Regions from separate parts of the Homo sapiens genome. Here regions 1 and 3 are each linked to region 2. Evidence: promoter capture Hi-C in 16 types of primary human blood cells and fetal thymus (Javierre and others, 2016). All regions are on one chromosome and are shown on one strand. Each heading gives the region's core, a stretch centred on a gene start or on the middle of the fragment in contact. The rest is flanking DNA. Distances are from core to core; before and after follow the strand shown.

Region 1 (4,205 bases), core at 1-2,500, 160 kb after region 2:
ATTTTTTTTTTAAGTTTACTTTTCAGACATTGTACATCTTCATTTAAAAATTACTATACCTGCAAATAAAGTGCTGCCCCAGGCTTTGATAACTGACTAAGGAAACGATCATGAAAACCAGGTCGCAAAATATCTCGAGCATACGATTCATATGGATCAAATGCCAGTTCCTTAGAAAATAAAGAAGGTAAAACATAAATAATTTACCATTACAAACACAGAAAGATTTAATTATGGGGCACGACTATGCGAGCACAATTATGTATGTCTTTGAAAGTCTCTAAGCAAAAATTATATGACTACTAATTATAATTTTAATAGAAGAGATCCCAATATTCTCAAGTAAGAGAGTAAATCAGTTCTTTCTGATGAATAATAAAATCCTTATATGTTATAACAGCTCTCATTAAAGGTTTCCAGTAGAGTATTATCAACAAACATGGCCATAAGAGTGGGCAGACTTTTGGTTCTAGAAAACAAATCTTAACTTGACAACAACAAAGAATATAGATATGTACAACTAGGTAAGGTATAAACATTTAGAATACTGAAGCCAGACATGTTTTTATAGTTCTCAGTGGTGGACATGTACTTTCGTATTCTATAAACCAGAAGTAACAGTTCATGTCATCTAAAATTCATTGTGATAATTTCACAAAACAATTAAACAAAATCCGAACTGCCCAAAATTTTGCCATCATTAATATCACCAATCAATAAACTAAATTCTAATGGCTCAGTTAAAAAGACCAGAATCTACTGGTTTTGAAGATTTCTGGGGAAAAAGAGAGTAGGTATCTTGATTTTAGCAGGAGAAATAGAGTCGCTACTCTTCTATCTTGTATAAAACTATTATGAAAATGGTGCTCTAGATTCTAGCATGAGCTCATTTCCATAAAGGGTAATTCTAGCAAGAGGAATAGGACATCTAGTGGAGGAGCATAGTAGAAAAAGGCAGAAGGGAATGAAACAACGAAAGGTTGTTATGAATTAAATCACCCTTAATGTTATTTTTCAGATTGCTTTTTTTTTGAAACAGGATCTTGGTCTTACTCTGTCACCCAGGCTAGAGTGCCGTAGTGCAATCTTGGCTCACTACAACCTCTGCCCCCTGGGCTCAAACAATCCTCCCACCTCAGTCTCCTGAGTATCTGGGACCACAGGCGCACACCACCGCGCCTGGTTACATTTTTTGTGTATTTTGTAGGGACAGGGTTTCTGCCATGTTGACCACCCTGGTCGTTTTTTGTTTTTTCTTTTTGGGACGGAGTCTCCCTCTGTCGGCCAGGCTGGAGTGCAGTGGCGCGATCTCGGCTCACTGCAAGCTCCGCCTCCCAAGTTCACGCCATTCTCCTGCCTCAGCCTCCCGAGTAGCTGGGATTACAGGCATCCGCCACCACGCCCGGCTATTTTTTTTTGTATTTTTAGTAGAGACAGGGTTTCACCGTGTAAGCCAGGATGGTCTCTATCTCCTGACCTCGTGATCCGCCCGCCTCGGCCTCCCAAAGTGCTAGGATTACAGGTGTGAGCCACCGCGCCCGGCCTGACCAGGCTGGTCTTGATCTGCTGGACTCAAGTGATCCTCCTGCCTCAGCCTCCCAAAGTGCTGGGATTACAGGTGTGAGCCACTGCGCCTGGCCTCAGATTGCTTTTTAAGAAATGATTGAACAGTAATACCACCAGATCAGAAATCAGAAGACGTGAGTTCTGGTTGTTGCATTTTGCAATATGGCATGTAAACTTCCAAGTCATACTGGATTCCTTGAGCTGGCTCTTAGTTGACTTCCCAATTTTTAACTCCTTCAACTTTCTTCTCAACTAAAAATTGCTATCATAATATAACACCAGAAATTGGAGTCTATTACGTTTTACAGAAATTGATAGTAAAGTTTCAAAAACAACAAGAGGATGGAGTCAGGCATGAATACAGTGGACGGAAGAGAAGACTAAAAATGTGAAGAGATGCTTATAGCTTAGGTCTCTTCCAATTCAGAAATGATCATATGCCAAATATCATAATGTATACATTCATCTATAAGTTGCCTTTTATACTCAAAAATTTTTCAAGATTCATCTATTTTGATTCATACAGTTCCTTTCAGTTTATTTTAAAACTATAATATTCTACTGTATGAATATATCAGTTTTCTCTAATCCATTCTCCACTGATAGATAACTGTTTCTTGTTTTTCACAATTATAAAAAAAAATTCTGTAATTTGCACTTGGTATGCAGGTACACTTCACTTTATGGTGCTTCACTTTATTGTGCTTTGCATATATTGCCTTTTTTTTTTTTAACAAGTTGAAGATTTGTGGCAACCCTGTGTGAAGCAAGTCTTTTGGCCCCATTTTTCCAACAGCATGTGCTAATTTTGTCTCTGTGTCGAAATATTTCAAACTTCTTCACCATTACTATTGAGCCAGTGTTCACTTACCATTCTGAAAATCCTAGGGCCCTTAAGGATTGTGCTAAATCTACTCTGGGTGTGCCCTATAAATGCAACAGCAAAGCCTGGATGATAGTACAACTGTTTACAACATGGTTTACTGAATACTTTAAGCCCACTATTGAGACCAACAGCTCAGAAAAAAAAAAATTTCTTTCAAAATATTGACATTGCACCTAGACACCTAAGAGCTCTGATGGAGATATACAAGGAGATTAATGTTGTTTTCAAGTCTCTTAACACAACATCCATTCTGCAGCCCATGGATCAAGGAATAATTTTGACCTTCAAGTTTTATTATTTCACAAATATGTTCTGTAAGGCTGTAACTGACATAGATAGTGATTCCTCTGCTGCAGCTGGATAAAATCAACTGAAAACCCTCTGGAAAGGATTCACCATTCTAGATGCCAGTAAGAACATTTGTTATTTATGGGAAAGGTCAAAATATCCACATTAACAGGAGTTTGGAAGAAGTTGATTCCAACTCTCAGGGATGGCTTTGAAAAGTTCAAGACTTTAGTTGGAGGAAGTAACTGCAGATGTGGTGGAAATAGAAAGAGAAATAGGATTAGAAGTGGAGCCTGATGATGTGACTTGAATTGCTGCAAGTTTATGATAAAACTTGAATGGAGAATTTGCTTCTTATGGATGAGCAAAGAAAGTGGTTTCTTGGCTGGGCGCGGTGGCTCACGCCTGTAATCCCAGCACTTTGGGAGGCCAAGGCAGGCAGATCACGAGATCAAGAGATCGAGACCATCCTGGCCAACATGGTGAAACCCTCTCTCTACTAAAAATACAAAAATTAGCTGGGCATGGTGGCACACACCTGTAGTCCTAGCTACTCGGGAGGCTGAGGCAGGAGAATCGCTAGAACCTGGGAGGCAGAGGTTGCAGTGAGCCGAGATCACACCACTGCACTCCAGCCTGGCAACAAAATGAGACTCCGTCTCAAAAAAAAAAAAAAAAGTCGTTTCTTGAGATGGAACCTACTCCTGGTGAAAATACTATGAACATTTTTATGACAACAAAGGACTTAGAATATTACATCAACTTAGTTGATAAAACGGTGGCAGAGTTTGAGAGGATTGACTCCAATACTGAAAGAATTTCTACTGTGGGTAAAGTGCTATCAAACAACATCACCAGCTACACAGAAATCTTTCATAAAAGAAAGAGCGAACAGTTGTGTCAAACCCCATTGTTGCTTATTATTTAAACTGCCAGTCACCCCAACCTTCAGCAGCCATCAACATCAAGGCAAGACCCTTCACCAGCAAAAAGATTATGACTCACTGAAGGCTGAGAGGATTATTAGCATTTTCTTAGCTGTATTTCTAAATCTAGGTATATATGTTGTTTTAGACATAATGCTACTGCATGCTTACTAGACCACAGGATAGTGTAAACATAACTTTTATATGCACTGTAAGCCAAAAAAATAGTGACTTGCTTTATTGTGACATTCACTTTATTGCAGTAGTCTGAAACCTAAGCCACGATATCTCTGAGGTATGCCTGTATAACTTAGTGTGCACATATGCATGAATATTTTTTAGAGCATGTAAACTAGAAGGGGAAGTTGCTTTCCAAAGTGATTATATCGATTTATATACTTAGCAGCAGTGATTTTTCCCAGTTGTCCACTTCCTTGTCAACATTTGATACTATCAGACTTAAAATTTGTTAGCCTGATGTTGTGAGACTATGCCAGTGTTATTTTTATATGTATTTCCCTGATTACTAGTAAGGTTGA
Region 2 (4,270 bases), core at 791-3,290:
ATCCGGAAGAAATTGACAGAATGAGCCATGAAATAGTCATCCCTCGGTATACACAGGGGATTGGTTCCAGAACCCCCATGTATACCAAAATCCACGGATACTCAAGTTCTCCAGTCAGCCCTGTAGAACCTGCATAGAGGAAAAGTTGGCCCTCTGTATGTGGGTTTTGCATTCCAGGAATACTGTCTTTTCTTTTTTCTTTCTTTCTTTTTTTTTGAGACTGGATCTTGCTCTATCACCCAGGCTGCAGTGCAGTGGTACGATCATAGCTTACTGCAGCCTCGATCTCCTAGGCTCAAGCAATCCTCCTGCCTCAGCCTCCTGAATAGCTGGGACCACAGGTGCACCACCACACCCAGCTACTTTAAACATTTTTTAGTAGAAATGAGGTTTCGCTTTGCTGCCCAAGCTGGTCTCGTACTCCTGAGCTCAAGCAATCGTCTCACCTTGGCCTCCCAAAGTGCTGAGATTACCGGCATGAGCCACTGTGCCTAGTTGAAATACTGTATTTTTTTTTTTTTTTTTTTTTTTTTTGAGACAGAGTCTCACTCTGTCGCCCAGGCTGGAGTGCACTGGCGCAGTCTCAGCTCACTGCAACCTCCACCTCCCGGGTTCACGCCATTCTCCTGCCTCAGCCTCCTGAGTAGCTGGGACTACAGGCACCCGCCACCATGCCCGGCTAATTTTTTGTATTTTTAGTAGAGACAGGGTTTCACCGTGTTAGCCAGGATGGTCTCGATCTCCTGACCTCGTGATCCGCCCGCCTCGGCCTCCCACAGTGCTGGGATTACAGGCGTGAGCCACCGCGCCCGACCTGAAATACTGTATTTTCAATCTGTGTTGGGTTGGGAAAAATCCACCTGTAAGTGGAGCCGGGTAGTTCATACCCATGTTGTTCAAACGTCAACTTTACTCACAAAAATGTAGAGTCATTAAAATCTTAACAGGCAAGAAAAATAACAGGTCAAACTGAATTCTGTAAGGTTGTGCACCAATAATTACCTATTATTTCTAAAATTTAGGGAAATGAAATAACAAATCAGTTAGATTAGAACTTCATCTCAAAAACCATGCAGCCCAGGTAAATTTGTGTACTGAGAAACATTAGGAAAAAGCAAGAGGATACTTACGCTGAATCAAAACAAGTTGTCTCACACCAACCCAGAAAATGTTACTTTTACAACTAGATCTGAGATATGCGCTTAACATTTTAAACGAAGATTTACTGACTGTAATGGTGTCCAATACCACTCTCCCAGAGTTTTCAAGGGAATAGGAATTAGGTTGTATAATCCACGTGGTTAGATTCCACTATCTATTCCATCTAGCCCGGGAAGACTCCAACTATCTTTCTTCACCATGGATACAGGGACCTAAGTTTGGCTGTAAGAGTATTCTTTGTTTGATAGCCAAGGCACTGAAAAGTGACTACACACTACTCTCCTCCCAGGCAGATCTCTGACTGATCACAATATATCCAGCTCCATCCAGATATCCAGATCTCGTATCCTTTTTCGAACTCACATCGTCCCCACCCTTCTCCCCAAAAAAGCCACACAGACGGAGTCAGAGAACGGAGCCTGATCCCTTCAATCAACCCCTTAGCCTGCTCCAAGACTGAATTTCACGCCCCGCCCCCCCCGGCCCCAACCTGCAGTTTGAGCGTGGACAACCTCAGCGGCAGAGCCCGCCTTGGTTCGGTATCAGGGCCTGGGATCCTGCTGGTCCAGATTCACCGGCCCCAGGCAGACTGGATGAAACACACTGGGCCGCGATGCTCGTCAGATCCCGACCACTCCTGGAGCAGGAGGCGGCAGACACACTGACAAACAGGGTGACGCGCACACCGTGCGCACAACGCGCATCACTTGTCCGCAGAAGTGGAAGACGTACCTGGCTCGCAGAGTTGGGTCCCGAGCCGGCTGTCGGGAGGTGCTGCCCAAGGGTCAGAGGTCCAAACTGGACTTGGCCACCCTCACGATTCTCACTTGGAGCAGCCCTGCGGTGGCCCAGCTGCAGCGGCACAGTCCCGGCGCCTTCTGATTGGCTCAGCTACAGCCCCTCGCGTATTCGCTTCCGGGTGAGAGGTGCCCGGTCGCCCCAGCAACCAAGTCGCACCTGGAGCTGTCCTAGCGCCTAGTTCTCTCCCGGCCGCAGAGCTGGCCGCCCAGGGGGAGTCGCAGAGTTTGGAAGATCTCTCTAACACCTCTCGGCCAAGTGAGTGTCCCTCCTCCTAACGACCCGGGCAGAGAAGAGCTCCTTTAAGTCGAACTAGCGTGGAGTCAGAACCTGCTTGGCTCCCGGTAACTCCTGTGGGGGTGTGATATATTTCCTGACCGTCTAGCCGAGGGGCACGGGGGAACCCCTGGTCTGGGAATCTAGCTCTGATTCTGTTGTTAATTCGCTGTTGAGACACCCGAGGCGCGTGCCAACCTCCCTGGGCCTCAGTTTCCGCTATGGTGCCGGGTGGTCTCTGTGAGGTTCCCTCTAGCTCTGACGTTCCCAAGTTTCGAATGTAGAACATTTTAGCGGCAATTGAAAACAGTCCAGTTTCTGATATGATTACGTTTAATGCTCTGCTTCATAGGCACTTAACGATTCCTTCCGAAGTGCCCTTCATTCACTAGACGTTCTGTTACTATTAGTACTAAACACGGAGTCGGACAGTGGGGTGAGAAGAGATTTGACTAATCTGCCATCCGTGTCCTGGAGGAACTGGGTGGGATAGGGGATCCCGATACAAAAGCATGGTTTTAATAGAACCTTAAGTACTACAGTAGGAATAGGCCCAGAGTGCCGTGGGGGTTCCTGAAGGAGTCTGAGGTTGACAAGTAATGAGAAGAAAGGCTTTGTGGGAGAGCTCATACCTGAGCTGGGGCTACAAGAATACAATAGCTAATATTTACAGAGTTTAGACACTGGGCTAAGTGCTTTAACTAGATTAGCTCATTTACTTGATTTGCCCCATCTAAGGATGAGGAAACTGAGGCATAAGATAATTATTTGTCCAAGGTCAGAGAAAATGGTGGAGTCTGGATGCAAAGGTAGGTAGTCCGATGCCAGAGCATGAACCCCTAACTACTACACTCTATTTTGCCAACTCTTGAGGATGAATAGCAGTTAACCAGGTAAAGAAGAGAAGGGTGTTCCACCCAGAGTACGGCATGGCATCTGTGGGAAACTACAAGCAGATCTGGTAATCTAGTTAGTTATCATTAGTTAAACACTTAGAAAGTAGCTCTGACGCCTGTAGTTCCAGCTACTTGGGAGGCTGAGGCAGGAGAATGGCGTGAACCCGGGAGGCGGAGGTTGCAGTGAGACGAGATCAAGCCACTGCACTCCAGCCTGGGCGACAGAGCGAGACTCCGTCTCAAAAATAAATAAATAAATAAATAAATTAAATTAAATTAAATTAAATTAAAAAATAAAAAAGAAAGAAAGTAGCTCTGTGTCCCTGCTCTCTTGGAATTTCACATCTTGCAGACATGTAAATAACTAATTAATGAGCACACATGGCAATTTCTGTATACCACCATACTTCACCCTTTATCCACAACCAAATCTTAGAAATTATGGGGAAAAAATAAGCAAACATAACTAAATTCAGATTTTTCTAAGATTTAGTGTTAATTAGTGTCTATATTTAACCCCTAAACGAGATCAGAATTCTAGCAAGATTGCTCTCTATCCTCCACACCATTTCCATATTGATATTACCTGAGTTTTAGTTACAGATTCTTTTTTTTTCTTTTTGAGTTTTTAATTTTGGTGTAGATGGAATCTCACTATGTTGCCCAGGCTGGTCTCAAACTCCTGGGCTCAAGCAGTCCTCCCACCTCACCCACCCAAAGCGTTGGGATTACAGGCATGAGCCACCAGATTCTATTTTTAAAACTTAATTTTTTTTATTTTATTATTTTTTTAAGACAGAGTCTTGCTGTCTCACCCAGGCTGGAGGGCAGGGTGTGATCGGACTCACTGCAGCCTTCACTTCCTGGGCTCAAGCGATCCTCCCACCTCAGCCCCCAAGTAGCATGGACAACAAGCATGCAACACCACACCCAGCTAATTCTTGTATTTTTTGTGGAGAATGGGTTTCACCATGTTGCCCAGGCTGGTCTCGAACTCCTAGGCTCAAGCAACCCACCCTCCTCAGCCTCCCGAAGTGCTGGGATTCCAGGCATGAGCCAGTAATTCATCCTACCAGCGTGCCTGCCAGTTTCCATGATTTTAGATTGATAGTTTCGTTGGATGTAGAATATTAGGTTGA
Region 3 (4,536 bases), core at 1,822-4,321, 140 kb after region 2:
TAGTGCTCTTTTCTATCATATCGTATAACCTCCCTGGATTAAAGAAACCCTTAAAGTTTCCACAGCTGTGAGATCTAAATATAAAGAATTAAACCTTGAGTTATATAACCACTATAGAAATTTACATGAATGATTAACTCAGAATGTACCTGTACTGCTAATCTTGGTTAAAGGCACCAGAAAGTCACTGAAAAATTAGCAGTCTAATTGTGATTCTGTAACTCTTGATCAGCCTTATTCTAGATTTTAGGAATTAACAGCTGTACCTTCCTGTATGCTGTACAGGGTTTCTGCAGCTGGCAGTGAAATAAACACTCCCATAATCATGACTGTTGTATTAGGTTCTAGAGTTGTTTTTAGCTTGACTGGAATTAAGAGTAGTCTTGCCAAAAAGACAAAAGCAGCAGAAACTAAAAACAAACCAAGAAAATCTGGCAAAAATTTAAGTACTTTCAAAAAATATCTTAAAGGCTGCATATAGTCCCAGGCTTGTATTAATTTATATTCTGTTTTTAGTCTAAAGCAATGAAAAATTGCTAATGAATGAAAAACATACTAAGACGACAAAGTACTTATATTTGAAATTTTACACAGAAAAGCATAAAAATTCCAGACATTATTTTTATTTCTATTGGATTGGTTTCTCCATTTCAATGACTGTAACACACACCATGTCGCTAACCACTGGAGACGTTTATCTTACTGATGATGTAAAGAGCTAAGATAATATAAACAAATGCCCATCAATAAGGACAGGTTATATAATTCTGTAAGAAAACAGAATACCTAGTTCCATTGATTAGGCAATGGTAAAAGCTAAGTTTTATACTGCCGTTGTTAGTTGTGGAGCAGCAGTTATCTACCCATATTCTAAAACCATGTTGCAGAGAGAGATGAAAGGTAAACACATAAAAATACAAAAGCCAGTCTGGGTTTGGCTTTATAACATAAGCAAAAACATATAATCCTAGAAAAAAATTAAAAATAGCCCATTTTTATATTCTCCTTTCTGTTTATCACTTACTTGTGGAGATAATTCCACAAAATTCTTTCTCAAACATGATCTCCTGATGAATTTCAATATGGTCAACAACCAAAACTTTTTCTACAGTTTTTCCCCCTCATCATTAGAGATAACATTACTTTGCTACTTGACTCTCAAATCCCTACGCTAAGGTTTCCACCATGTTCACTAGTTGCTCTGCTTCCCCCAATCAAAACAGCTAGGTTATTTTCAAACAGAAATAACCAGGTTATTTCAAACAGAAGCTGTAGTTATTTTTTTCTGCTGACCTTCTGTCTCTGTTTTCCTCACTATAAAACCATTATTTGATATTTTACTGCACAATACTTCAAAATTTTAGGAACTCAGAGTATACCTACATTAGTGTTCAGAATATAGATTGGAAGTGATAATCCAATCCTTTTTCCTTATGTGCCTATTTTGATTGACATGACATTTTATTTGACAAGGTCAATGAAATTTGTATTTATTACATAAAAAAGTTATTTATGTAAAGACCACCCCACCCCCAACCACCACAGTAAAACACTGTTATAATCAGGATGTCTGTTCATGTGATAATTCTCCCTTTAATGCAGCCATTTAAAAAGCTACAAGAAACAATAAGCTCCTCAACAAGGATTTATAAACAATCAGTCTTGAATTCCTTAAAAAAGGAAACAGACGCTATGCTGACGCACAAACACTTTTTTAAAAAATCAGAGAGTATAAAAATAGAACAGCGCTGCCCTATAGATGAAAAATTGTTCAAAAGATTTAAATAAGTTAAAACACCGAAACTGAGCTTATATAGGACACAAACTCAAAATAAATCTAATTCAGGTTTTTGAGGCTTTTCCCTATGAAGGTATAAAATAGCAGTAAATACTTTAAAGAAAACGATCTTCTGGCTTAAGTTTTTTCAATACCATCTTCTGGAAAAGAGAAATTCCCAGGCAAGGGAAACACCTTTTCCCTCACTTCAATATGCAAAGCTTTTATTTCCCATAAAATGTCAATTCTGAATTATTATCCTTACTTCAGGGTCATCTCATTTTTCTAAAATAGACTACCAAACTGGACACAGCACCACCTACCATTTATCTACTCGTGTTGTTTTAGGTCTCATTAACTTGTACTTTGTTGCCTACAACAACTCTGTAACAGACGTGAAATTCCTACTCTCAACTTTTTATTTGTGCATATTGCTTTGTGCTTTCTTACTTAGGATAAGGAAATAGTCTCTTCATACCATTGCCAGATTTAGAATGATCCATCCAATTGGATAATTTTTCCCCTAGTTTTTGGGACAAACCCCAAAGTTCTGATATAGTCAGCAAATTATGATACATCCAGAAACACCGAATCTGAGAGACAAGCTATAAATTAGATTCCACCTAAGACCCTGTTGCAATCTTTTAAGCAAGTTAACCACTTTCTAATTCACCTAAATTTAAATTTTTCTTTCCACAAAGCTTTCCCTTTAGTGAGCAAACTACATCAATAGACTAATAATTGGGTTTTGTAAAAAAATAAAAATAATAATAATGACCAGTATCTATACATAAAAAATCTATGCATTCCAATGGAAGTGTATCTATAGTCAGAGCTTACCTATATCCTATTTCAAGAAAAAAAAATTACTGACAATATCTTCATAGTACGCACGTTTGCCCAGAAATGAACAAGCCATTTATATTATTGGCAGTTCAAACCAAGGAAGTAATTTATTTATTTTTTTTGAGCTCACATCTGTACCAGATCCTTTTACTTAATTATTAACACATATAATTAAAAAATTACAACATATTCTATTCATGAAAACAATCACCTTATATGAGTCAATGTAACATGGTAGAAAATATACTCTATTTAGAGTCAAGAAACCTAATTCTTGACTTGTTCTGGAATTAACTCGTAATAGAACTTCTGGGAAATCATATAATCTTCAGGGGCCTTGGGATTTGTCTACAAAGTGAAGGCTTGGGCATCTCTTCTAGCATTAGAGATCTATAGCTCCATTTTGTACATTACTGTTAAAATATTTGAGGGATAAAGTTGGCTGACACCACAGTGAAGTCTGAATAAAGTAAGGTTAAACCAGTTTCTCTTCTGTTTTTATGACAATGTCTAACCAAACTATAATAATCTAAAAGATGTCTGTAAGTCGTGTCTTATAGTATTCATTAAATTTTCTCATGTATTATATCCAATGTCTTTTATTACAATTCTATATAATAAAATAAAAATGTGTAAGTTAAATGTTAGCTTTGTTTCAGTGTAAGCCACAACCTGTACTGCATGTTCTCCAATAAACATACCTACTAACCAAATCACAAATCCCTTTTCTCTTTGGGGAGGCTGAAGAAAGATGAGAGGAGAAGAGCAGACCAGTAGTTCTTAAAAACAAATGGTAACTTGATCTGTTACCATTGTAGTGAGGCCTTAAAAGTCCATTTCAGTTTTACAAGTTCACAGATGGTCTATTAAAAACCATTCTATGTTGCCAGTAATAACTTCAGTAACAGACCTTACAGAATAGCCCAAATAAGCTAACAGTTAACACTAATGTGTGTGTACTGTAAACCACAACTCACGAAAGCTGCTTGTAGACTCCAGTTTCACCAGTAATATATTTATGACATAAATTAAAATATTCAGTTAAGCTTCAAAAGAAGACAGAAAAGAAAAATATCAAAAAACTTAGCCACAACACTGGCCTTTTATTTCTCAAAAAATTATTGGAAGGAATTTTTTAAAAACATTTTTTTTAAGTAAAATAATCTCATCAACTTAAATTTTCAATACACTTAACTTTGGCAAAGTTCTATAAATCTTGAAATTTAAGTGTTTTATATTCATTATAAGTAAAAGCACTCAAAATATTACTCTATACCAAAGCTAAAAATTGATATAGAAAAGAAGTATCAGACAGAAATAACTAATAAAACATCATTACAAAAGTACCATGTCCACGGACTTTACCTAACATTGTACACATTAAGGAAAGAAGACTTTCAGGACTACAAAACAAGTATCAGCTTGTTCCAGTTAATTTTGCTTTAAAGTGTCCTCATTTAAAAAAATAAATAAAAGGGACAGTTCCCCAGACAATAGTTGTAACCATTCTTCAGCTGCTTATTAATAATCATAAATTAACTTTGTGAAATATAGCAATTTAGAGAAAACTTCTATCACTCAATCAAGTCTTACAGAAACAATTAAAAATTTTGTAATTTGAAAATGTTTTCCTGCCCAAGTATCACTGACTTGTGACAGTAAACACTAGTAGTAAGTCTTCTTACAATGCTCTACAGGAAAAAAAAAAAAAAAAAAAAAATTAAAACTTCTTTCTTACAAACACAGAGAAAAATCTAAAGATTAATTTTACTCCAAATGAGTCTAGGAACCCCAAACAAAAGTACTTAGGATGAAATGATAAAGTTTAGAATGCTCATGTTATAAAAATTCTATGAGTCCTCTAAGGGGACTTAAAAACCAGGAAAATGTGGCAAGAAGGGCAATTTGAACTT

The links. Contacts are between HindIII fragments. The CHiCAGO score rates a contact against its expected background, and 5 or more counts as called.
Region 1: a contact is called between a fragment that was not itself captured here and the fragment with the promoter of DHX57 in region 2, in 1 of 17 cell types (M2 macrophages). The highest score is 5.0, in M2 macrophages.
Region 3: a fragment that was not itself captured here is called in contact with the fragment with the promoter of DHX57 in region 2 in 1 of 17 cell types (M2 macrophages); the score reaches 7.1 in M2 macrophages.

What each region holds. Positions count from the first base shown.
Region 1 is chr2:39,035,331-39,039,535 of GRCh38, forward strand. It overlaps SOS1 (SOS Ras/Rac guanine nucleotide exchange factor 1), which reads right to left. Exons shown (of 23, transcript NM_005633.4): 7 at 60-170. Among named protein-coding and RNA genes, the nearest start is that of SOS1, 84 kb to the right of the region's middle. The HindIII fragment of the contact is 6,152 bases long and covers 1-4,205 here.
Region 2 is chr2:38,873,894-38,878,163 of GRCh38, forward strand. DHX57 (DExH-box helicase 57) reads right to left here and starts at 2,041. Exons shown (of 24, transcript NM_198963.3): 1 at 1,894-2,041. MORN2 (MORN repeat containing 2) reads left to right here and starts at 2,083. Exons shown (of 5, transcript NM_001145450.3): 1 at 2,083-2,217. The coding sequence starts at 2,160. RefSeq lists an enhancer at 1,250-2,234. The HindIII fragment of the contact is 7,829 bases long and covers 1-4,270 here.
Region 3 is chr2:39,017,205-39,021,740 of GRCh38, forward strand. All of the region lies in intron 10 of SOS1 (SOS Ras/Rac guanine nucleotide exchange factor 1), which reads right to left. Among named protein-coding and RNA genes, the nearest start is that of SOS1, 100 kb to the right of the region's middle. The HindIII fragment of the contact is 1,191 bases long and covers 2,477-3,667 here.